Regions from separate parts of the Homo sapiens genome. Here regions 1 and 3 are each linked to region 2. Evidence: promoter capture Hi-C in human tissues and cell types (Jung and others, 2019). All regions are on one chromosome and are shown on one strand. The core of a region is centred on a gene start or on the middle of the fragment in contact, and the rest is flanking DNA. Distances in the headings are between cores, read along the strand shown. Region 1 overlaps TRAPPC9 (trafficking protein particle complex subunit 9). Region 2 holds the start of KCNK9 (potassium two pore domain channel subfamily K member 9). Region 3 overlaps TRAPPC9 (trafficking protein particle complex subunit 9).

Region 1 (3,863 bases), core at 335-2,834, 130 kb before region 2:
CCTCCCTGGGCACGTGAGCCTTCAGGGGGCTGGTGGGGGAGCGTGTTGTTGAGTTCCTGCCATGGCAAGAAGTACCCCTCAGAGTTCCTCTTTGGTCCCATCCAGTTGCTAGCTTTGCCTTGGACAGATGGCTATGGGAGGACAGGGGCCTTTTTGAAGTGCCGTTGGGGGCTGTGGTGGGCTGTCAGGTGGGAGCCGGAAGACCCTGCCCCGTGGCAGCTGTGCACTGGGGGTGGTGCCTCTGGTTACCGTGCTGCCTCGACAGGGTGTCACAGAGTGAAGCACGTCCCCCAGCTGGCGTGAACAGCGGCAGCAGGAGGGCTCTTGCATGTGTGTCACGGTGATGGTAAGAACCGTAGTCCAGCCTTTCTAGGCTTTGCAGATGTATTATCTTGAGCTTTGAAGTTTACCGAGGGTTTCTCTGTTCACTTCCTGGTTTGTTCCCTGAACTAACACCACCGGTGCATAGACTATTAAAACCTAACTGTCACCTGTACAGGTCCTGTTCCTTGTTCCAGGTCTCACAAGCAAGCAGGACTTGAACCCAGATCGCTAGGCCCCAAGTCCTCCTTGTCATTTCCTTTTTTAACAACAACAACGACAAACCCACAGAGACAGAAGGAGCCGTTCACATCAAGCCTTTCTGACCTCCCTGGAGGTGATGGGGTACCATCGTATCTCATTGTTTCTGGCAATGATGGCAAACATCGAGGGTTTATAAAGATCCTATTTTTTAGCTTACAGAATGAAGTATCTCCAATTAGAAGCATCCTCCTGAAAGAGCACTGTTTCTTCCCATGACTAATTGCATGCATGCTGAGATTTTGTGGAGCCTTGGTGTCTGCTCCTGGGAATTCCACAGAATGTCCCAAATGACTCTCGGGAAGCCACGCCCATCTCTCTTCAGTTCTTTTTGGACTTGGGATGAATCGTGTGAGTTTTCAGTCTCCCTCAGTTGCCCCGTGTGGCGGCAGCATCTGCATTGCTGCAGGGGAGCAGTTGGGCTTCATGCAGGCCTGGGCTGGGCCCTACCTCCCTCCCGAACCTTGAGCTTGCTCATGGAAGCTCTTTCTCCTCCAGGTCCCCCCAGCGGCTTCCCATGCACTTGCCCCTGGGGAGAATTGCAGGAAACACACACATCGAGTGCCGGGCGCAGGGTCAGAACCAGGATCGGTCCCGCTCCGGGGTCTGAGATGGAGAGCTGGTTCTTCTTTCAGAACTGCTTCCCTTTACTGGGGTGTGGTGGCTCACGCCTGTAACCCAGCACTTTGGGAGGCCAAGGTGGGTGGATCACCTGAGGTCAGGAATTCGAGACCAGCTTGGCCAACGTGATGAAACCCCGTCTCTACTAAAAATATAAAAATTAGCCAGGTGTGGCGGTGGGTGCCTGTAATTCCAGCTACTCAGGAGGCTGAGGAGGGAGAATCACCTGAACCTGGGAAGTGGAGGCTGCGCTGCGCTGAAATGGTACCACTGCGCTCCAGCCTGGGCGACGGAGTGAGACTCTGTCTCAAAAAAAATAAATAAATAAATAAATGCTTCCCTTTGTGCTACACCCAGCTTTCCTTGGTGGAAAATAGCATTTATGATAGATAGATGGGTAGGTAGATATAGATATATATAACCTGTCCAAACAGCTGGCAAGCTCAGGCCACATCCTCCACTGCTGATTGGGGTGGTGATTCTTGCACTCTCTGCCGTCCTCGGAGCCTCATCCTTTTTGTAACGGATTCTGTGGGCTTTCTAGGGAAGCTTTTTTTTTTTTTGTTTTTTAATCTTCAGCTTTCCCTCTCATGTCTTGGCAAAGCAGTGAGGCCTGGAGTCTCTTCATTTCACTCTGACAGCTCTTATCAATCTCCGCCTTAATTAAAGAAAGCAGATTTGGCAGCAGTGTCTCTTGTCTGCTGTCCTTTGGGACTTGATCGCTTTACAGCAGCAGCACTGATTGGCCTTTCTTGCTGCTTTCCCCACTGTCCCCAGGTTTATTAGTGAGGATGTCTCGTGGATACAAAAATAGATACCTAGATGAATAGATATTAGACATCCATCCGTGCATCCACGCACAGCACGGGCGAACGTGCGCGCCATCACAGTGACACAATGGGGCGCAGGAGGGAAGGCTGGACGGCGGCGAGGATGCTTGCTGCAGAGTCGCAGAGCAGCGGAGCCCCGGAGGACCTGCCAGGTTCCTTGGCTCAGTGACTTCAGAAATTTATTAATCAAAGGCAATGTGTGCACAACGCAGTATGTAAAACACATAAAAAGCATCTCTGTTCTGCTCGAAGTGGGTGAGGAGGTCAGAGGAGCTGGTCAGATGGGGGAGGATTTGAGGGTGCTTTCACCCCTATTGCCTCCAACTCCCCTATTTAAAAACCAGTGCTCTAGTCCAAGGCTCCAAGAGGAGAGGTGATTCACCCAAGGTCGCATTCATTAACAGCGAAAACCCAGTCAACAGAAACCTGCCAACGAGTCTGATGCCCACTCCATGGGGGGCACTTTCACCTTTGAAATCTTCACCTTTGGCATCTGGGCTTCCCTGTCCAGGCGAGTCAGCACCGGCATGAAATAAATCCTCAACAGGTGGGATAGAAATCGCCTATTTAATGACTGCCACGGGGTGGTGGGGAAAACATTGGACTCAGAACCTGGGAGAGCTGGCTCCCAGCAACAGCCCCGCTACTGGGGCAAATGACTTGTTTTCTGAGCTGCGGTTTACATCCTGAAATGCGCCTGATGATGACAGTGCCTGTATCTCTCGGGTGTGAGATCCCTCTCGTGAACTTGGACATGGCAAGGAGGGATGGAAATACCAAGAGCTTTGCAGCCTGCCAGGCAGGACTCCAAGTTCAGGCTACTCTGCCTGTACTCCTGGTAGACCATGGATAAGCCACACTCTCTGGCTTCAACTCCCTCAGCTGTGAGATGGGGCGACAACGTCCCCACTAGTGCACTGGTCCTGAGGACTCAGCGTCATGGAGGGCGGCTTCCCTGCCATTCGCCAGACGCCACGTTCCGCCTGCCTGCTGGCGGTGGAGGGGTCCCCCGTGCCTTGCAGCTGTGCCCGCCCCCCTTCCTCAGAAAGCCAGCTCTGTCTCTCAGTTGTGCATGTCACGTGGTGAACACACACGTCATTGTCCTAGGTCATTAGGAATGTCAGACTCACTGCTCCCGACACAGCCCTCTATGGTCCGTGGAGCCTTCCCTGGATCTCCATTTGCAGCTATGGAGTTGCGTCAGGTTTCTGCTGCCAGCTGGTGTAGGCACCATCATGCAAGAATACCTAACCTTGACTGACGTTCTTGCCTGGCCAAGCCTAGCAGGTGGCACTAACCACACCACCAGCAAGCAGAGTCCCTTGTGACTCAGCTCCCACTGTGACAGGCTCTGGTGGGCGCTGGGTACACAGAACCTCACCTCAGGCTTACAACAACTCTATGCACCGGAGTTTCTCACCCTGCTTCGTTCCAGAGGCCCACACAGGGCTCCATGACTTGCCCAGTGTCACATGGTTACCAAAGCCACGTGGCTGGTAGGGGTTGGGTAGCGATTTGCACACAGGTCATGCCACAGGAAAGCCTGCGTTTCCTCCACCGCCAAGGCACCTCCTCACCAGGGGCTCTCATGTTTCTGATCCCTCCTGACTTTCAGTAGCCATACCCAGGAATAACACCAGGGTGGCCCTGCCTCCCCTCCCCCACACTCAAGTTCATTCCCGGCCCCTCCTGCTCCTGAAGCGGAAGGAAGCTGAAATCAGTCAGTCCAATGACGGGCACACCTCTCAGCTCTCCTCATGAGAAAGTCCACACTGCACATTAGCAGCGGCCCTTCTTTGGTGGCCGCAGCTGCTTCTGGAAATGCCTCTT
Region 2 (3,484 bases), core at 616-3,115:
ATATATATATATATATATATGTGTGTGTGTGTGTGTGTGTGTGTGTGTGTGTGTGTGTGTGTGTATTTTTTTTTTTTCCTTCAGTAAAGCAACAGAGAGGTTACTGGGTCGGGGGATTGCGATGTCTTTCCCCGCTGTCCTGACTCCAAAAGTGGCGGCCCATGCTGTCCTTAGCGCTCTCCAGGGAAACGACTCGGGTCTGCAGGTGCTGGCCCAAGCGGGCTGTGCCGCTGGGAGGCGAGGGGGCCGAGGCAGCCCTCGGGACCCCACCACTCCACGAGGCCATGTCCCTGGCCAATGACACGCTCCCGCGCCGGGTGGCTAGGTGGGGGGTGGGGGGTGGGGAAGACTTCGTGAACCGCTGCTGCCGCTCTCCTGTGTGCCCATGGCCCCCTCCCCTTCTGCTCCCCACTCTCTGCCCAATCTGCCTGAAGCTGTCAGCCTGCCATCTCTGGCTGAATCCCGTTTTCCTCCTCCAACCCCGAGTCCCTCAAACTCTCCACCCGCCAGGGCTGCTTGCGCTCTTGGGGAGCGGGGCTAGAAGGACCCAAGAAGCCGCGTTTATCCTCCCATCCCCCGCCAAAACCCGCCGGCGGCTCCGCCCCCGCCCCCTCCCTGGCGGCTCAGGCCGCCCCTCCCGGGCTCCCTCCGCGTGCGCCCTGCGCCGCGCTGGGTCTGCAGCGGGAGCTGCCACAGCAGCCTCGCCAGCTGGCTGGGGACCAGGCGGGAGGTGGCGCGCCCTGGAGGCTGCGGGAGGGAGGGAGGGAGGGAGGCCCGGCCTCGGCGTAGCCCGGCCCCCGCTCCCCGAGGCCCTCCCGCCGGAGCGGGGCTGCCAAGCGCACACACACACACACACACACACGCACATACACACGCGCACACACACATTCGGGCTCCCAACGGCGCGCACGCACGTAGCGCCCGGGGCAGACCAGCGCGGCGGCCGCCTCCCGGGACGCCCGGACGCCGGAGGGCCCCGACCCCCGCGCGGCTCATGCGCCCGCGTCCGCCCCGCTGCTCCGCGAGGCCCGCGGGACCCCTCCCGCCGCCGCCGCCGCGCCCGCCGCCCCCGGAGGAGCGGGCTGGCCGACCGCCACCGCGCCGTCCCCCGGCCGCCCCCGAAGCCGCTCCATCGCGGTCCCTGCCGTCCTGGGGCCGCGCCCCGCTCCCGCGCCTTGGGGGTTGAGCCGAGCAAACTTCGCGCACCGGCCGACGCCCGGCGGGGACCCCGCTGCGCACCCGCGCGCCCGGGTGGGCGCTGGGCGCGCGGACCTTTGGGGAGCGGGCTGCCCCTCCCGCTGCACCTGCTCGGCCCCCTCCCCGCTTGCAGGGGACTCCAGAGACACCGCCACTTCGCAAACTTTTCCTCCCCACCACCGAGAGGGGGCGAGGAGGGGTAAAAGGGGAAGCAGGTTCCGCTGGGCGCGCGGACCTGCAGGCTCCTTGCTGGGCACCGCCACCCGCGAGCTGGACCCACAGGGGTACCGGGCCCCGCGGCCGCCCTCCGGCCGCTTTCTGGCTCCGGTTCCCGTCCCTGCGTTTCCCGCGGGAGCGGGGGGCGGGGTGCGGAGGGCAGCAAGGCCCGCGCGGTACCCAGCGGGGCCGCCCTGCATGGCCCTGCGCAGTGGGGCGGGCTGCTTCGGCCGGGTCTGGCGCAGGGTGTCGGGGTTCCCGGACGCCTGGCCCCGGCGCTCGAGCAGCCTCCTGTGCCTGTCCGCCTTCTCGGCTGAGCCCGGGCCCGCGCCGCCCCTGCCCCGCCAGCCGCCTCGCGGTGGCGGTGGCTGTGGCGGCCCCAGCGGAGGGGGCCCCCCCCAGCCTCCCCGCCCCCCGCCTCCCCGCTGCTGCTGCTGCTGCTGCCGCCGCCGCTTACAACTTGGAGGCGGCGGCGGCGGCGGCGGAGGAGGAGGCGGCGGCGGCCGCCGGGCGCTGCAGTGGGACGCGCGCGGCTGTGAGCCTGCGGGACATGCCCCCCGCGCCGGCTCCTTGCTGGCGGCCATGAAGAGGCAGAACGTGCGGACTCTGTCCCTCATCGTCTGCACCTTCACCTACCTGCTGGTGGGCGCCGCCGTGTTCGACGCCCTCGAGTCGGACCACGAGATGCGCGAGGAGGAGAAACTCAAAGCCGAGGAGATCCGGATCAAGGGGAAGTACAACATCAGCAGCGAGGACTACCGGCAGCTGGAGCTGGTGATCCTGCAGTCGGAACCGCACCGCGCCGGCGTCCAGTGGAAATTCGCCGGCTCCTTCTACTTTGCGATCACGGTCATCACCACCATAGGTAAGGGCTGGGCGCGCCGCTGGGCTCCCGCGCCCCGGGAGGAGTCCGGGGAGGCGGCTGAGCGCGCCGCGCCGGGCTGGGTGCAGGGCGTCGAGGGTTAAACGCAGCCTCCCTTGGGGGCCTTCCCGCAGCGCCCCCTCCTCTCTAGGGAGCCCCCCCTCCGCGGCGCCTCCGAGCCTCACCCTTCGGGGACCCCACCCGGTGCTCTCCACCGCGCTGGTGTCTGGGCCGGGCGTGCGAGCCCCGAGCGAGTGTGCCTGAGCCGGGAGGGCGGAGGCGCCACTTTTGCGAAGAGAGTGGAGCGCTAAGAATAATCCCATAGCAGACACCCACCCACCCACCGCCCCGGCGCGGGCTGGGCTGCGCGGGGCTCTGAGCCTTACACTTACTACCTCTCTGGGAGTTGGAGAGGGCTGGCCTGGCACCCATGGCTCCTAGAGGGACTCAGGTGGCAGGGGAGTGCGCCTGGGGCGTGAGAGGCACTGACCCTCCGTAGCCCCTGGGCCCCGCTCCAGGCTTCTCTGAGCTCAGATTTCATCTCTCTTCCCCCCGCCCGGCTCCTTTTTTCCCCTGAGTTCCAGTTCTGGAGCTTGGACTTCCCAGGCCCCTGGGAGGAGAGAGTTTGCTCTCTGGTGCTTGCGTTGGGGGTGGCAGCCCCTCAATTGCTCTCAGTAGAGGTGGAGAGTGGGGGCAGGGCAGAACCTGCCCACTCCCTAGGCTGTGACACTGGGAAAGGCCAGTCTAGACATTGCCCAGAAACCAGGGAACTTGAGCCCCAGTCACGAGAGGGGGTCCAGCTGGTAAACTGCAGGGATGCCCGCCAGCCCCACTGCCAAGGGCGCTATTCACAGAGCAGGGTCTCTGGTCGGTCCCGAGGGCAGTGTCCCCTCTAAGGCTGGGGGCTGGGAGGACTCCCGGACGTTATACTTGGAGACCTGTGGGAGCTGGGGCAGGTACCTTCATTCGGGTGGACGTGGTGGATACCCTGCATGGCAGGAGGCAGGGTGGTGTCTCTGTGGTTCACTTGCCCCAGTGAGGCAGGCTGCCTCTCTAGGGCCATCTCCTTGGACTTGCCAAGGCCAGTGTGTTAGTGGGGGTGGTCTGTTTCCTGCACCCCTCAGGGCTTCACACCCCTGTGCCCTGGGCAGGGACCTCCTCCTTCCCCCCTCCCTTCTTCCCAGCTCCTCCTGTCTCGCTTCTCTGGAC
Region 3 (3,759 bases), core at 125-2,624, 250 kb before region 2:
TTTCTTGTCAATCAGAAGGGCCTGTCCTGATTGGAAACAATTCCTAGGAGGCATTTGCCATGTACGAGACACCGTGGTGGAGGGTGGAGAAATAGGTCAGGCGTAGGCCCAACATCAAGGAGACGCTATGCTGGCAGCTGATGGAGACACATGCCTCAGAAACAACATCCCATGGGCCGGGCGCGGTGGCTCACGCCTGTAATCCCAGCACTTTGGGAGGTTGAGGTGGGCGGATCACAAGGTCAAGAGTTTGAGACCAGCGTGGCAAACATAGTGAAACCCCGTCTCTACTAAAAATACAAAAAATTATCTGGGCGTGGTGGTGGGTGCCTGTAATCCCAGCTACTCAGGAGGCTGAGTCAGGAGAATTGCTTGAATCCGGGGGGCAGAGGTTGCAGTGAGCCGAGATCACACCACTGCACTCCAGCCCAGGCGACAGTGTGAGACTCCATCTCAAAATAAAAGAAAAAAAAAAACGAAACAACATCCCATGTAGGGTGAAATGCACGAAAGAACAAGGTGCTGTGCACACAGGGGTGGGTGTTTCGAACGAGGAGCATCGGAGCTGGTTCTAGGCACAGCCACACTCTCGTCAGGTCTCCGCGTGCTAACCAGCTGCCTCCCTTCCAGCCACACGGCGGGAGAAACGAGGACCCAGACACAGTCTTGAGGGCCAAGATGCATCCATAGTTGAGCATGAGGGAGGGCGGGGCACTGGGGCAGTCATGCTGGATGGCAGCAAGGCAGACCACACCAGGCATCACAGAAGCGCTGCAGAGCTTTCAGTTTCTCTTGGAAAGAAGCCCCTGGGACCTATTTGAGGATTCCTCGACGTTAGTGGACACAGAATGTTAGCACAGCCCTCACGAACAGGAAACTCAGACTGGGGGTGAGTCTGGTCGGTAGCTGGCTGAAAAAGGTGGATTTCCTATTTCCAGTAGTCCTGACCCACATTCCCACTTTTGCTGTTGTTGTTGTTTTCCAGTTAGATACTTTTCATCTCCTTCCAATTGTGCAGTTCTCGAGGAATCCTGCATTGCCTGTTTCTGGACTGGCTGCCTGGGAGGGAGCCTAAATCCCTTCCTGTCTTAGAGCATTTGCATCAGTGGGGTTGGAGCCTTTCTCAGTTTTGATAAGTAGGAGCTGTTTAATGTTGTATTTGCTTCACGTGTTGATGCTGAACGTGGGCGCTTGAAACCAAGTTTGCTCTTGGATCCATCTCGGAGGAGCCCCTGGGTCCGTCCAGGGTTTTTTTGCAGTGTGTGCGGCTGGTGCTGTGTGTCACAGCATGCAAAGAACCCACACGGAGATGATCAGGCTCCTGAACTGAACCTCAAGAACCCAGTGAACAAGACCTACATGAGGCTCCTACAGGATCCCTTCTGGCCCTGATCATTCCTTCATCACTGTTACCAGAAACGGGGAGGTGAGGGTAGGAGGTGGTCAGATGGTGCCGATGGCTGGTGCAGCTGGTGGCAGAGGCTTTGAAATCCGACCCCTTTCACAAGAAAAAATGTGCTTGATCCCTACCATTTATGTAACCAGTACTATAATAAAAACATTAAATATGCATCAACATAAAATTAAATACAGAATCCTTATGCTTATAATACTTAAATCTGTGAAACCGCTTTTCCAAATTATATACATGCCAAATTGTAAGACCAATACAAATAAAATTACCAGATTAACTTGATGAGATGTTTTGGTACAACTAAATTGCCAGTAGAATTGTGAACGTATATGGACAGCTGCAGAGCTGGCTCCTTTTATTTTAACATGCCTGTGTATACAATGGAGTGGATCTGTATTCTCAACATTGGCCTTTATTCAAACCAGGGCAAATCTTCACTGACACGCTGTGATGTCACTTGAGTGTCAAGTGGCGTGAGCACCTCTACCTTTGTTCCTTATTGTTAGCTGGTGGCAGTGAAGGTAATAACACTTGCACAAGCAGCCAAAGACACAAACGCAAACACAGGTCCTGAGATTACCTCGCAGCTTCTTCTTACAAATGGCCATTTAGATGATTTAGAATATGCTTATATTGATTTTTAAAAGCTTGGTCTGCTGGGGCTGCCGTAACAAAGTACCACAGACTGGGTGGGTGGCTTAAACTGCATACAGTTATTTCTCACAGGTCTAGAGGCAAGCTGTCTGGCATCTCTTCTTATAAGGACACTAATCCAATCCTGAGGGCCCACCCTTATGATCACACGTAACCATAGTTACCTCCTAAAGGCTTTACCTCCTAATACCGTCACTTTGAGGGGAAGCGTACAACATATGAATTACTGGGGGACGCAGTCACTCAGTCCATCACAACTGCTTTTTTGAGGTAAAATTGACATACTAAAAACTACACATACGGAAGTGTACACTGTGATCATTTGGGGCATCTGTTTACACCCAAGAAACCATTGCTACAATCTGGACAGTGAGCATATTCATCACCCCCAAAAGCTTCCCTGTGCCCTCATCATCGCTCCCTACCCCTGGCGCAGTCCCCAGGTAACCACCAATCCAATCTACTCCCTGTCGCTGCAGATAACTTTGCACTTTCTAGAGTTCTATTAATATGGGGATGGATCATACAGTACTATTCCTCTTTGATCTGGCTTCTTTCACTCAGGATAATTATTTTGAGGTCTGTCCACACTGTTCAGTGTATCAGTGGTTCTCTACATCGTCTGCAGCATTGGATGTGGTCAGTCTTTTTCATTTTAGCCATTCTAACAGATGTGTAGTGGCATATCATTATGGTTTTAATTTGAATTTCCCTGATCATGAGTAGATATCATTGTATATAGTGATATATTTTTATCATATGAAGCATTTTTATATGTCTGCTTGCCGTCTGTAGATTTTGTTGGTGAAGTATGTGTTCAGGCCCTTTATTTAAATAAAGTTGGGCTGTTTGTTTTGTCACTCTTGCATTTTGAGATCGTCACATACTCTAGATACAGGCTGTTAATCAGATTTATGATTTGCAAGTATTTACTTTCAATCTAGTTTATCTTTTCAAGCGTCACTCAGAGAAGTTTTTAATTTTGATGAAGTCCAATTATCAGTTTGGAGTCATGTCTTCTATGTCTTTTCTAGGAAATTTTTTCCTTTAATGTTTACTTCTACACATTTTTTTTGAGACAGAGTCTTGCTCTGTCACCCAGGCTGGAGTGCAGTGGCACGATCTCGGCTCACTGCAACTCTGCCTCCTGGGTTCAAGCGATTCTCTTGCCTCAGCCTCCTGAGTAGCTGAGATTATAGGTGTGCGCCCCCATGCCTGGCTGATTTTTGCATTTTTAGTAGAGACAGTGTGTCAGCATGTTGACCAGGCTGGTCTTCAACTCCTTGACCTCAAGTGATCCACCTGCCTCGGCCTCCCAAAGTGCTGGGATTACAGGCGTGAGCCGCAACTCCTGGCCTACTTTTACAAGTTTTATAGTTGTAGGTTTTACGTATCTTAAAATGATCCATTTTGTTAGTTGTTGTAGATAGTGCAAGGTGGATCGAAGTGGGTGTTTTTGCATGTAGATAATTGATTATTCCATCGTGTCCTCTGCCTCTGAATCCAGGGCACTGGAAACAGCCATCCTCTTACTTCCTGTGGCAGGCAGTTTGGCCTGCGTCTCAGGCTTGGTGTCTAGAGTCAGACTACTTGGATTCAAGTCCAGCTCTGCTTCTGACAAGCCGTGGGGTCTTGGAAAGTTAGCTGACCTCTTTACCTTCAGTTTCCACATCTGTAAAGTGTGTTAATAA

Evidence for each region. The method cuts DNA at HindIII sites, captures the fragments that hold promoters and counts their contacts. A contact is called where the count stands out against the background at its distance.
Region 1: a contact is called between a fragment that was not itself captured here and the fragment with the promoter of KCNK9 in region 2, in 3 of the 25 tissues and cell types used here (IMR-90 fibroblasts, dorsolateral prefrontal cortex and mesendoderm cells).
Region 3: a fragment that was not itself captured here is called in contact with the fragment with the promoter of KCNK9 in region 2 in 3 of the 25 tissues and cell types used here (adrenal gland, bladder and spleen).

The regions. Positions count from the first base shown.
Region 1 is chr8:139,833,676-139,837,538 of GRCh38, reverse strand. All of the region lies in intron 21 of TRAPPC9 (trafficking protein particle complex subunit 9), which reads left to right. Among named protein-coding and RNA genes, the nearest start is that of C8orf17, 96 kb to the left of the region's middle. The HindIII fragment of the contact is 8,586 bases long and covers 1-3,863 here.
Region 2 is chr8:139,701,504-139,704,987 of GRCh38, reverse strand. KCNK9 (potassium two pore domain channel subfamily K member 9) reads left to right here and starts at 1,865. Exons shown (of 2, transcript NM_001282534.2): 1 at 1,865-2,278. The coding sequence starts at 1,996. RefSeq lists a silencer at 1,848-2,142. The HindIII fragment of the contact is 18,854 bases long and covers 1-3,484 here.
Region 3 is chr8:139,952,876-139,956,634 of GRCh38, reverse strand. All of the region lies in intron 19 of TRAPPC9 (trafficking protein particle complex subunit 9), which reads left to right. Among named protein-coding and RNA genes, the nearest start is that of C8orf17, 23 kb to the right of the region's middle. RefSeq lists a silencer at 3,205-3,371. The HindIII fragment of the contact is 4,280 bases long and covers 1-3,514 here.